Regions from separate parts of the Homo sapiens genome. Here all the other regions are linked to region 1. The links are contacts of gene promoters, found by promoter capture Hi-C in blood cells and fetal thymus (Javierre and others, 2016). All regions are on one chromosome and are shown on one strand. Each heading gives the region's core, a stretch centred on a gene start or on the middle of the fragment in contact. The rest is flanking DNA. Distances are from core to core; before and after follow the strand shown. Region 1 holds the start of BMPER (BMP binding endothelial regulator). Region 2 overlaps BBS9 (Bardet-Biedl syndrome 9). Region 3 overlaps BBS9 (Bardet-Biedl syndrome 9). Region 4 overlaps BBS9 (Bardet-Biedl syndrome 9).

The links. Contacts are between HindIII fragments. The CHiCAGO score rates a contact against its expected background, and 5 or more counts as called.
Region 2: a fragment that was not itself captured here is called in contact with the fragment with the promoter of BMPER in region 1 in 1 of 17 cell types (endothelial precursors); the score reaches 6.3 in endothelial precursors.
Region 3: a fragment that was not itself captured here is called in contact with the fragment with the promoter of BMPER in region 1 in 2 of 17 cell types (endothelial precursors and megakaryocytes); the score reaches 7.8 in endothelial precursors.
Region 4: a contact is called between a fragment that was not itself captured here and the fragment with the promoter of BMPER in region 1, in 1 of 17 cell types (endothelial precursors). The highest score is 5.2, in endothelial precursors.

What each region holds. Positions count from the first base shown.
Region 1 is chr7:33,904,047-33,907,293 of GRCh38, forward strand. BMPER (BMP binding endothelial regulator) reads left to right here and starts at 1,493. Exons shown (of 15, transcript NM_001365308.1): 1 at 1,493-1,700; 2 at 2,772-2,857. The coding sequence starts at 1,568. The HindIII fragment of the contact is 6,002 bases long and covers 1-3,247 here.
Region 2 is chr7:33,410,981-33,414,227 of GRCh38, forward strand. The region is part of intron 19 of BBS9 (Bardet-Biedl syndrome 9); the gene reads left to right. Among named protein-coding and RNA genes, the nearest start is that of BBS9, 280 kb to the left of the region's middle. The HindIII fragment of the contact is 3,243 bases long and covers 162-3,247 here.
Region 3 is chr7:33,435,897-33,439,143 of GRCh38, forward strand. The region is part of intron 19 of BBS9 (Bardet-Biedl syndrome 9); the gene reads left to right. Among named protein-coding and RNA genes, the nearest start is that of FLJ20712, 290 kb to the right of the region's middle. The HindIII fragment of the contact is 1,131 bases long and covers 1,220-2,350 here.
Region 4 is chr7:33,469,957-33,473,203 of GRCh38, forward strand. All of the region lies in intron 19 of BBS9 (Bardet-Biedl syndrome 9), which reads left to right. Among named protein-coding and RNA genes, the nearest start is that of FLJ20712, 250 kb to the right of the region's middle. The HindIII fragment of the contact is 1,958 bases long and covers 579-2,536 here.

The sequences.
Region 1 (3,247 bases), core at 243-2,742:
TTAGGTCCGTTCCGTGGGGACCCGGTTTCAACTCTTGGACAGAGGAAGTCGGTAGTCCACCGTGAGCTCAAGGACAGCTAGCTGATCGTCAGGTCCCAACACTTGCCAAGCGTCCCTCACTCCCACCTCGCGCCTTCGTACTTTGGTTACAAAAATCATCTCTCTGCGATTGCACCCCTTTTGAGTAGAGGGTGCCACTGCGTGGGGAGGAGGCGGCGATTCAGCAGGGGGATCACAGGAGCTGACTCCCCGACACCCAGTGCTGCAGAGGCGAGAGGGCGCAGCCGGGCTGAGAGAGCGACGGAGCTCCGAGCTGCAGAGGCCGCCGCGCGGCGGCCCCCGCCAGAGATGAGCGGTGGGGCGGGGGTTCCTCCCTCTTTTCGGGTGAATGAATGATTAGTCAAACACCACCTCCCCGCCCCGGTCCGCCCGAGATTGGAAGGGAGGAGTCTCGGAGCGACTGTTCATTTTTTAAGGACGAAAGGCGTTTGCCTCGGTACGTTTTTAAATCGACCTTGTGTGTGTTTCAACTTCGGTCATCCCTAGTGTCAGGACGCGCAGACAGCTAAGCACAGAACACATCTCTAAGGCCACTTGCCCCTCTGTCCGCTCAGCCCCCTGAGTTCGCTGTCGCGCCCCCGCCAGAGGGAAGCAAAGCAGGGCATGAAAAGTTGCGGGGGCCCTACTGCCCCGGGTGTGTCGCTCCTTCCCAAAGGTGGGGCACCCGGGAGCGAGCAGGGTGGTGGGGCGCCCCTGCGTCCCGTTTGCTGCTCCCTCGCTGGATTGGGGCACCCGGGCCTGAGCGCTAGTGCTGCGGCATCCCCGGGGCTCCCCCAAGAAAGGGAGGAGGAGCCGCGCTCGCCCGGACAGTGGAGACGCGCCTTCTCGGCTCTGGTCCGCGCCCTGGGGCCCTGGCCTCCCTGGAGGGGCTGGGGAACTGGAAGCTGGGCCGAGAGAGTTCCCGCTGCAGCTATCGCGCAGTCCCTCCTGCGCCCGGGCGCCCCCAGCGGGTTCCGGGAGGCGCCCGGTGAGCCCACGTCTGTTGCGGCGGAGCGAGCGCGCTCCGGGAGGGCCGAGAGCCGGCGGGGCTGGCAGGAGGTGAGGAGTGCGGGAGTGGAGGACGCTGCGGCAGCGACAGCGACAGCCCCCGAAACAGTAGCGGCAGCCCGGGCGGCGGCTGAGCGGCAGTGCGCAGTCGGCAGCGCCGCAGCTCCTCTCAGTCTATCTCCGGCTGCCGCAACACCCCTTCCTCCTGGCCCCCTCTCCGGCGCTGAGGGGCTGACTGCTAAGCCACTGCAAGCAACTCCCTCAGGAAAAAAAAAAAAAAAGCCGCATCGGAGGAGCCTGGCCGCAGGACCCCTCCTCCCCGGGCGCCCCCACACCTTGGTCTCTCCCCCCGCCCTCCCTCACACCCCCCCGCCCCCCAGCTCTCGGGCGCCCGCCTCCCTCCTTCGCGGACGGTCTCCCGACACGCCGGCTGAGAGCCCTTTTCGACTGTGAGCTGCGGCAGCTGAGCAGAGGCGGCGGCGCGGGACCTGCAGTCGCCAGGGATTCCCTCCAGGTGACGATGCTCTGGTTCTCCGGCGTCGGGGCTCTGGCTGAGCGTTACTGCCGCCGCTCGCCTGGGATTACGTGCTGCGTCTTGCTGCTACTCAATTGCTCGGGGGTCCCCATGTCTCTGGCTTCCTCCTTCTTGACAGGTAGGGGAGGGGGCGGGAGGGACCGGCCCTCCGGGACGCCGGTTTGGTACCTGGGAAAGGTGGCGCTGGCTTGCCCCGGGGATGGGAGGGTGGGGAGCGCGCACCTTGGCGCTTGCCCTGCGCTGGTCGATGGGGATGAAGCGAAGCCCCGGGAGGGCTGGGAAGGCTGGTGAAGAGGTTGCGGGCTGAGAGGCTGTTGCCTTCAATGTAGTAATAATAGACATTCTTCTATTTGAATTTGAGAAATTATTTTATTTATTTTTAATGCTTTCCTCAACTTTTATTTTAATCTTTCCCTCTGTAGAACTCAGGAAAAAAATTTGTGCAGTTTTCCGCACATCTTCCTTTCTCATCTTTGGGGTTGCAATACATCCACTGTGCTAGGAGTGCTTTTTAAAGCACTGGCTCTCAAGACCTTGAATTTAAAGAAACTATCATTTAAAAAGGGCACTAATAGCCGGATATAATAATTATATGTTTTCAGGCAGGTGAAGACCTCAGCTGCTATTCTGAAGGACATACTTTACTGACACCTGGTGCAGAAAAGAAAATATGGAGTCAATTTCTAAGAGAAGGGAAAAGGGGATTGCGTTTCAAAAAGTGATTTAAACCTAAGACAATGCGAGACAGATTCATAGAAAGGCCTGTTTATTGACTCAGTTCTGAGTTTTGGTCAATTTAAAATCTGCCCCAATTTGAGGGTTTTTTTAAATTTTATTTTTTATTTTTTTCTTTGCGTATGGGGCTGTGTGCTTAGTTGAAATATCTTCATAAAGGAGGAGTGTTATTAAAAATCCAGTGAAATACTTGGAATTGTGCTTAGACCATCTGAGAACAGATAATTTATCCCTATATCATAGTCTTTTCTTTTTTGAACCTGTTTAAATAAAATTATTGAAAATGGAGTTGGGGGCAGAGGTTTTGCTTTGGTGAATTTAATAATTTAAACCACATTAAGAATTCTGAAGTTTGGGTAGAGGTTTCAAAAAGGATTAGTGTAAAAATTTTAAATGTTGAAATCATGCTGCTAAGCTAACTTTAAATGAAACATTTTTCCCCCCTGAATTTCAGGTTCTGTTGCAAAATGTGAAAATGAAGGTGAAGTCCTCCAGATTCCATTTATCACAGACAACCCTTGCATAATGTGTGTCTGCTTGGTAAGTGTGGAGATCAGGTAATATGAACTCAACTGCTCTCTCTGATAAGGTGAATCCATTAAATGTGATAATATAACCAGATCTTACAAATTGTCTTTATCATTACAAAATTGCACATAACTGTACATAGTTTGTGAGTTGAATCCAGTTAATTTCTGAGTTTTATGGACTTTGGCAATTTCCATTTCATCCAGCTGGAAATTCTTATCTTTGACATCATCCTTATAGACGTAAATTTCAGATAGGCTTTGTATGACGTCTCGGTGAAATGACAGTTTGTAATGTCTGTTTCCAGTAATGATTACTACAACCAAATTCTTGGGACAACAAAACTTTCTGCGTTGGTTCTGTCATTTAAGCTCAGTGGGAAAATGATGAGATAAGATTTAA
Region 2 (3,247 bases), core at 533-3,032, 490 kb before region 1:
ACAGACCACAGAAGAACTTAAAATGTTGGTGTTTTTTTTTTTTTTTTTTTTGCTTTATATATCTCCAATATAGTGCAGACCCTGTATATGCATACGGGAATAATTATATGCAGAAATGCAGCCTTCTTTTAGCCGGAAAGGATGCCTGGAACATGTGGATAAGCTTGGATATTTGTCTAATGTTAATTGGAATGTTGGTTTTCAGTTGCAGATGCCAAATCTTCATAAAAGTAATTGGATTTAGCTTCCTATTTAGCAAACTACTTCAAATCCCTGAAGTATCCCACATCCGAAACTAATTTTTCTTGATTGTATCAAGTTCAGTCATGAGTAGAACAAGGGTTGACATAGTTTTTTAATATTAAAATATTTCTTGACAAGGTTTCAACACTCTTGCTTGTCCACAAACCTATTGTTAAACACACTCAATACAGATGCAATCTTTGTGTTTTGTGGAGCTATTTTAAAAACTTTGCAAGACTGTCTTCTTGAAGTAAACCACATTTATTCCTTTTTCCTATACATGTAAATTTAAACTTAGATTTTGATCAGATTTCAAGAAACAACGCAAAAATTGTGTATTTTTATTGCTTTTTATATAAACTTATATATGTACTTAATTAAACTTCTATTGATTCATCCTAGGAAATACATTTTATGGTAGTTTTGAGTCTTAAAAGTGTTATTCAGTCTACAAATGTTCAATGTAATATGTAAGAATATTTGGGGATACTAGGGAAAAAACCTCTTAGAATGAATATTATTTGATCATTAAAATTTAGGGATTAAGAGATTCAATTTAAAGGATTGTGCTATCAAATATTTATCAAGCAGCTACTCTGTGTAGGGGTCTTTATGATTAGAGGAGGTATATAAAGATGTTTATAATATGGTGTATAGCCTCAAGGAGCACGATGTTTTATACAGATAATAATTATAAGCATGGACAAATGTTACTCCTTATGGTAGTCATTTACCATTGAGGATGATTATTTAAATATCTGAAAAAATAAAATGGTGCTTAAGTGAAATATGAGCAGATGCATCATACTTTTTTTTTAAACTAAAATGTATTATGTGAAAATCATTTTGGTTGAAATCACTAGTGACTAATAGGAACTGTATAGCTCAACAATAGATTATTCTAATGTATTTTTGTAATAGAACCCATTTTGTTAGAAAAAAATTCATAGCCATGCTTCTATGTCATTTTTTCTTCCAAGACGTCAAACTATTTAGCAGGTAAATACTGCACAATTTAGTTGAATTGGATTTTCAGTCTGTTTTTAGTTCATCTCCAGAGTAGGACTAACTGCCAGACCTAACGTTCACTCCTGTGCCACAGTGCTTAACATAGAGCCTGGTGTGATGCATTCTAGGTGCTCAGTACACATTTGTTGAGCTCTCTGGTCCTGTCCCAAGGGCAACTGGCATTTCTTCAGTGAGTTTCTGAAGGTATGCCTTCTGTTTCTGCCAGTAATTTCCCTGGGACCAGGAAATTATTTTGCTAATGAGATATGCACTTTACAACTTGCATGCCTATGCTTATCATTCCTATTCCTGGAGTTCAGCAGTCATTGCAGCTGCTGTGGAAAGTACTCCTTTGCTTTGACTGTGTTTTAACTATCAAGTTGTTTTGGGACTCCCAGTTTTGTCACTATGGAATTTTTAAGATCCTTTTTTGCTTAAAAAGCAATTGTCATCTTGGAAGAAGAATAGGTCTCATCATCTTTCTGGTGTTAAGTTGCAAACCTTTGAAAGTTTACGCTTATATCATTTGAGGTAAATTACTTGCTATATCCCAATTAGGTATACAGTTCTTTTTAAAGCATGTTTTTCATGAGCCTGAATCATAGGACTAGAAGTGACATTATAAAGTACTTCATCTTTTCAAATTTTGCTTTCTAGCTTGATACCATTCTTCCTTGAGTTAGCCTTTTATTCTTAAAATAAAAAATGATTTTATGTAAAATTTTGAAAGCTGTTGACTACAATGTTTGATATAGTTTAGTAGGGAATGTTATGGAACAATTGGATACTCACGACCTAGAAAAAGAGTCATTTTTTACTATGAGTTAATTTTTCTGGACTCCTCTTAGTTAACACTGGGTAATGAGTTAGATGGTAGTTCTGATAGCCTTCAATCAAGAACTGACTCAGAGAAAATACAGTTTCAATAGTAAAGGTGGAGAAGCAGGCATTCCTACAACTCTCAGTATCTAAAAATCCTTGCAGTCTCACTCCTACTGTCAGCTGTTTTAACTATCAGTTTTATTTAGGTGGAGAAACCACTGGGACCATGAATGATAATTTAATTAACATTCCTTTATTAAGACAGGCTGAGTTTAATTTTTTCTTTTGACTATTCTTTTTAAATAAAGATTATTTTCTTAAGATAGGTTTCTACAATGGTAATTACAAAGTCAAAGAATAGGAGTATTTTAAGGCCTTAATATAAATTAGCTGATTATTACTAATTTTATGAGTTGATGCGGCATAGAAAATGTGCAGGCGATTCTTTAAGTATTCCCTCACACTGTCTTCATTAGTAAGTACATCAATATCACTGTTTTCAGAGCATCTTATGGGGTTTGCCAACAGAATGTGCCTTCCTTCATGGTCTTGTCTTACAAGACCACCTAGCACAGCTGGAGAGAGCCAACAGTTGCGTGTAAAAAAAAAACAGAATGTGGATATGAGGAGCTAAAGACAGGGACTGGCTATTGGCCCCTTGTTTATAGTGAATTAAAGCCAGACCAGGCCGGGCGCAGTGGCTCACGCCTGTAATCCCAGCATTTTGGGAGGCCGAGGCAGGCAGATCACCTGAGGTCAGGAGTTTGAGACCAGCCTGACCAACATGGAAAAACCCCATTTCTACTAAAAATACAAAAAAATTAGCCGGGCATGGTGGTGCATGCCTGTAATCCCAGCTACTCAGGAGGCTGAGGCAGGAGAATCTCTTGAACCTGGGAGTCAGAGGTTGCGGTGAGCTGATAATGCGCCATTGCACTCCAGCCTGGACAATAAAAGCAAAACTCCCTCTCAAAACAAAACAAAACAAAACAAAAAACGAAAACAAACAAAAAACCAAAAACCAAACTGAAGAAGAACCCAGCTTCCCAGAGGAGACTGAGAAGGAGGCAGCCAGCACATGAGTGCTCCTGTAGTGTTATCTTGTTTTGGGATTTAGATCAGTTAGTAGTAATTTCCCTTCAGGCCTACACATATCTTCATTTTTCTAAAAGAA
Region 3 (3,247 bases), core at 535-3,034, 470 kb before region 1:
GTGAAGCAAGAGTACTCTGAAGAATTACCAGTGGATTCCTTGGGCTAGAGGTATCACCAAGTGTTTACTTGGGGGAGGTGGCTTTGGTCTTCCCATGACCTTTAGCAGCCTTCCCCAATTCTTTGAGATAGAGAATTAACGTATTTGTAGTCTTTTTTGTAAAGTGCCGTGCAAGTGCAACTTTAAGACAGGTCAGCTCGCTAACTTCCAAGTAGGTTGCTGTACTAAAGCTGGAGCCAACACAGTTTGGGCTGCCCTACTTAAGCAGGAGTTGTTGGTTTGCCATTACCTACTGTGTTTCTGCTACTTAAGGACTCCCTGAATCCTAGAGATGTGGGAGCCCTGTAGCAAAACATACACCATTGCTATTGCTGGTGATGTGAACTTAGATCATGTTTTTGCATTGTGAAATAAGTGTGTTGTAGTGTACTTGATGAAAGATGCTCATCGGTTAAAATCTTTACTTTGTTATTATTAATGATTAATGTAATAGCCCCTTGATCACTGCCCCAACTTTGAATCATCTGTCTTCTAACTTCAGGTGATCATTCCTCAGAAAGTTAGTTTCCTAAGGATTATATAATTGATACTTGTAATTACATTATTTATAATCTCAAACTCATATTAGAAATAATGAATAAAAACATTTTGTTTTTCAAGTTCAAACCAAAGGTTCTGAATTTGTTGAAATTATTTAAAATGAATTTATTTGTTAAGACTCACCTCCATTGGTAACTCCCTTTGAAGTCAAGCTGTTCTCTCTGCCATCAACTTTTTAGATCCACCTTGACCATGGCATTGATAACGCTGTGTTGCAATTACTTGACTACACATCTGTTTTGTTAACAAAGCTGTGAGCTGATTAACGGAAGGGGACGTGTCTTCTTCACTGATATCCCTAAATGTTAGTAAGTGTTCTCATTGTTAATAGATGCCAGATAAATGTTTTCCAGATTATCTTGAATTTACTTAAGCATGGAATACTGTATAAAACACATAAGTTATAAAGCATTAGCCATCTGAGATAATTTCTGTGTAACTTGACTTGTAACTGTGACATAGTTTATTTAACATGAACTTTGGTGGTGAGATTTGTACATGAGTGAGGAAATTTAATATATGATTTAAAATATCAGGGATTGAATAAAGGAAAAAGAAACCATCTACAGCTTTTAAGTGTCAATTGGACCAGTCTTTTGGAATCTATCTGTCCATCACAAGCTTGTCTCTGCTTTAGCCCCATCTCAGACATTTAATCCTTGTCTAGAAGGGTAATTAGAAACCATCTAATTTAGGTTATTTCTATTGAGGTAAATTGAGTTAAGATAACTGAAACTTGCCTTGGCATTTAACCTCTTTGGAGTCAGAGCATGGCTCACCCTTTGTGAAAGGCCACGCAGCTGACCTCTCTGCTCCCACACCAGTCTTCTTTCCAAACAGCGACCTGAGAGTGATCATCAAATAGAGCCAAGTGCTATATCAGGTTAACTCCAGGGTATTTTTAATGGATATATAGAGAAGCATCAGAGTGTTATCTGTCAGACACATTTCCAATTCTGAGGGGAAAATTCTTTTGAATTTCACATAAATTCTTTACCTGGAAATACAGATTGATTTATATTGAAGATTACTACTACACAAGAAGTCATAGCTTCTTAGATAACTGTGTATATGTCCAGCATATCTTTAAGAACAGTTTTTGGGCAGTGCCTCATGCCTGTAATCCCAGCACTTTGGGATGCCGAGGTGGGCGGATCACCTGAGGTCAGGAGTTTGAGACCAGCCTGGCCAACATGGTGAAACTCCGTCTCTACTAAAAATAAAAAAAAATTAGCCGGACACTGTGTTGCATACCTGTAATCCCAGCTACTCAAGAGGCCGAGGCAGGAGAATTGCTTGAACCCGGGAGGCAGAGGTTGCACTGAGCCAAGATCCTGCCACTGCACTCCAGCCTGGGCAACAGAGTGAGACTCCGTTGCAAAAACAAAACAAATAAAAACCCCACAGCTTTTGTACAGCTGTTTTGAACAGCTTTTGCAACTTTTTCAACATTTTTGCTGGACATGGTGTTAAGTTTTGAAATATAGAAATGAAAAACACATAGGCTCTCTTTCGTAATTCTAACTCACTGTCAACAAAATGCAGAAAAGCATATTGTAACACCTGGTGATAAGGGCCATAATGAACATATTGTGGTGTTTTTATTTAAAATACCACAGAACTAAACCAATTGGCTATCTATATATAAAAAATGCAATTGGATCCTTACCTCATACCATAAACAAAAATAAATCTCAAGTAAATTAAATGCCTAAATGGGAAACATATACCTTTTAAAAGAAAAGGGAGAAGCTTATATTTTTAACCTCAGGGTAGGGAAGGACTTCCTAAGCAAGTTATAAAAAGCACAGCCAACCTTTAAAATCAAAGATTGATAAATTTGACTAAATTGAAATATAACTTTTGTATAACAAAGGAAACCAGGTACAAAATTAAGATAAGATATTTTTAATTCATTCTACCAGGAAAGGAGTATGTAAAGAATCCGACATAATTAAGAATAACGGGTCCAGTAGAAAAATTAGGCAATGGATATGTGTAGAAAATTCTGAAGGAGAAAATGTAAGCTGCCAAAAGACATTGAAAGATGCTTAACCTTGGTAGTAATCAGAGAAGTAGAAATTAAAACCCATAGGGAAAATCCATTTCATACATATCAAACTGAAGAAAAAGGGAAATTTCTGATAGGATGAAGTGTTGGCAAATACATGGAGCAATGACAAATTCCCATACACTACTTGTAGGAGCACAATTAGATACAGTATTTGGAGAGCAGTTAAATGAAAGAACTTGGGCTATATACATGCTAATATTTAACGCAGTCTCAAAAACACAATGCTGAGAAAGAAAGAACACAGGATATTCATTTCACAAAGCTGGCGAATGTTCTCATATGCTGCTATTCTCTTCTTCCATTGGAACAGTTAGTTCAGCAAGTTATCATGACTAAAGCTGATGAAGGAGTCTCTTACAACCTTAGTTTATCATAATTGGTAGGTACCCACAGGATTTTTATCACTTTACCAGTGCTTTGGTAGGTAAGTCACCAAGAGTGAACACAGAGTGTTCAAGCTTTGGGCTGATTTACAAACAGCCAAAAATGCCTGTATTCTTGGTCAAGCTTTATGGACCCTTCAGCCCTAAAGCCTGGGGCCAGCTCAGGTCTGAGTGACATGCTAGGCCGGGC
Region 4 (3,247 bases), core at 308-2,807, 430 kb before region 1:
AGTTTTCTTTATTTTAATTACTATAACTATTAATAGCAGATGTTGCTGTGTTAAATTGAATTTGTTCTGAGAAAGCCTTTGTTGGGCTTGGAACTAGAATGTAAGCTCTTCGAGGGTAGAGGCCATGTCTTGCTCATCTTTGGAATTGAGGACTTACTACAATGCCTGGGGTCATGGCAGGTCCTCAAGAAGTGCTTATTGTACTAAATCCAACTGTGGTACTACTTTGCCTTTTCATAACAATATAGAATTACAAGAATATTTTTTCCAGATTTTTACATTTATTTTCATATTAGTTTCCTAGATTTTTGTAAACATTGAACACCAGCATTCTTTTTTTTTCTCAGATAAAATGATTTGATACAGGTCACTCAATTATAGGGGAAGCTAGAATCTAGGTTTTTTATTTTTTAAAAAAATCACTTCTGGACCTTCTAAAATATATATTTTTTTCTATTGCTATTCAGCTTCTCTCCCTAATCTTCTAACGTAGATTCCATTTCTACCCCTTCACTTTTTTACCACCCCTATTTATTGTTCTCTTGTAGATTATCCTCCAATTTTCCGTGAAAATAGCAAGCTTTGTTCCTCTATTGATATGTACGATGCCAACGATCAGTGATGAATTCTCTATTTTCAAAGCTGTACTGGATTTATATCTTAGCATAATAGACTTTAGAAGATGCAAAGCCAGGGAGGCAGAAAATACTTAGTGCCTGCTCACCGTGGGTTATAATATACTACCTCTGGAGGATTTAAAGTCCACTGTAGAAGAACAATCACACACAAGTTCACAAAGCAACACATGAATAATGTAAGAGAATCCTTGGGCCAGCTGTGTTCTGTGGAGACCTGGGCAGCTAAATGGACATCCTGAAGGACACTCATTCAGGGGGGTGTCCTGGGGTTAGAGGATAGATGATGAGTTTTGAGTAGGCTTTTCAAAAGATGGGAGGGATAGAAAACGGCTGAGAAATAGATACTGCTGATACATAGTAGATTCTATAATGCCATCGTGCCACATACTGATACAGGTTCATTTTCCTGCGGATTATTCATTAACCAGTCTTCAATGTGACATCTTCACATGTGGAATAATCTGACACTTTTAGCTGGTATCACTAAAAAGTATGTTTTCCTTCAGCATCAACTTGGGTAACTCTTGGTTGTTCCAGTGGCTAGTTATCTAATTGCTGACTTATCCAAGCTGTTTCTCCTGTTTCATCCTCCTTTTACTTGATTTTTAAATGTACAGTCATAGTGGGATGGGGGAAGAAATGCTGCAAGTGATGGTCTTTCATTTATTCTAAAATTGTTACCTATTTGTTTGTAAAGAAGTTGGTGAAGTTTAAAAAGAGTTGGCCAAAATGAGATGTTGGAATTGATTTTGGCTTTATCATTCATTAGTATTTCTTGTCTTAGCATAAAAAATGGCAAGTTGGCTGTTCATAGAGTCAGAGTATCATTAGAACTCCCTGAGGCTGGGGTTTGTGACTTGTATCCCTTGCTACACGTATAGTCCATAGTAGGTGCTCATAACTGCAGGTGGAACAACAGTATGACTAGACCTAGAAGGGAGCTTAGAAATGCAGAAACTAAGATCTAGAAGGGCATTCTCATTAGTGACAGAAGCAGGACTGATCCCAGGTCTCCTTAGCTGTCCACTGTGCTTTCCACCACACCACATTGCCAGAGGCAATGGCAGTGTTAGCTGTATAGAGCCCAACAGCCACGCTGGAGACTGTGCCCAGGGACAGTAAATCAGAGGCAGCTGGGCAACAGAGGGTTCTTGCCAAATTTGTAAAGGTTGGTTGTCAGCAAACCAGAGCAACAGAACCATTTTTGAAAATTTCCATTTAAAGTGGAATTTTCAAAACCATGAACTGCCACCAGGTCACTGAAGTTGATTTTATGGGAAGCCAGGGTTCCGCACAGCTGGTAGAGCAGACTGGTAATGGTGGCTCAGGCTGAGGATTTCTTCAGGCCAGATTGCCTCTGACCACAAGTGCCTAAAATTACTCACTAGGGATTGTTCTCCTAGTCATTTCTTAGGGCAAAAAAAACCCCACTTTCCTCTTAGGACCTTTTGACTGACAGAGAAACTTCTAGAGGAACATTTATTCATCTAATCTTTCTGTAGGCTCTGACTGAGAACTAGCGAAGTAAGCCAGAGGGTGTAGGAGTGATTGCTCAAGGATAAATAGTGACTCTTGCAGAGAAATGATATTTTTATTTCTTCAGAGGCAATAGGCATATCTAAAGCACTGTGAAGATGTCCAGGTAAGTTTATTAAGTTCTGAGGGAAAAGAAGTAGATGAGGAGCAAATGAGAATCTTGGATAAAGGCCTAGACCTTGATCATGGAGGATTTTATTTGTTTTTTGATATTATAGTGGATAATAGCAAAGCAAAATTCATAAGGAGGATCATTTTCCAGAAAAATATGTAGCACTGATTTCTTATGCAATACTTGAGAAAATATCTCTCAGAGAAGATTCTGTATCTAATTCTAGTAAATGGGCCAAATGTAATAAGTAAGCTTGAAGCCGGGTGACTGCTCAGATCTAATTAGATGAGGGCATGATGGTAGATAACATGGAGGTTAGGTAGTGTTTATAGACAGGCTGTCCCTAGCAGGCCTGGCATTAGTTAACTGCTTGAGAGATTCTTTAGCAAAGAGGTAATTGTAGAATACATCGACAAGCAGAGTTTATAGTTGAAATTAATGGCATATTTAATTGTGTAAGCTATTTGGGCCAAATGGCTTCTTTTTATCTTGTAGTTCTTGGATCCTAACATACGGTAGCATTACCCCCACTCTCTCAACCACCCTTACTTTTTTCCTGTAGTGAACACGTATACTTTATTGTTTGTGGAACTTGCCACATGATAAACATTGTCAACAGTGTCAGTGACCATAATCACAGAACAAATTGCTTTTCCACTTGGTCAAATATGTAATAAAATGATTCATCCCAAGAACTCTTCTTCATGGTGACTTGGCTGGGTATTGATCTAGTTCCTGGATCCAACCTCTACCTTACCTCAGGCCCTAAGTTGACCAGGTGGGCCCTGGATGGCCCTGCCGAGCTCCAGCTCTGGGATGGATTCTTCTTTGAACTTGGGAAGATTTTGTCATTCATGAAATTGGAACCATCCTTGGAATGTTAGTTTTGAAAGATTATGTCTTCCCCTACCAGTTAGAAATTAATGAAGATAAATCTCCAAGTGCGATGAACTTTTAGGAA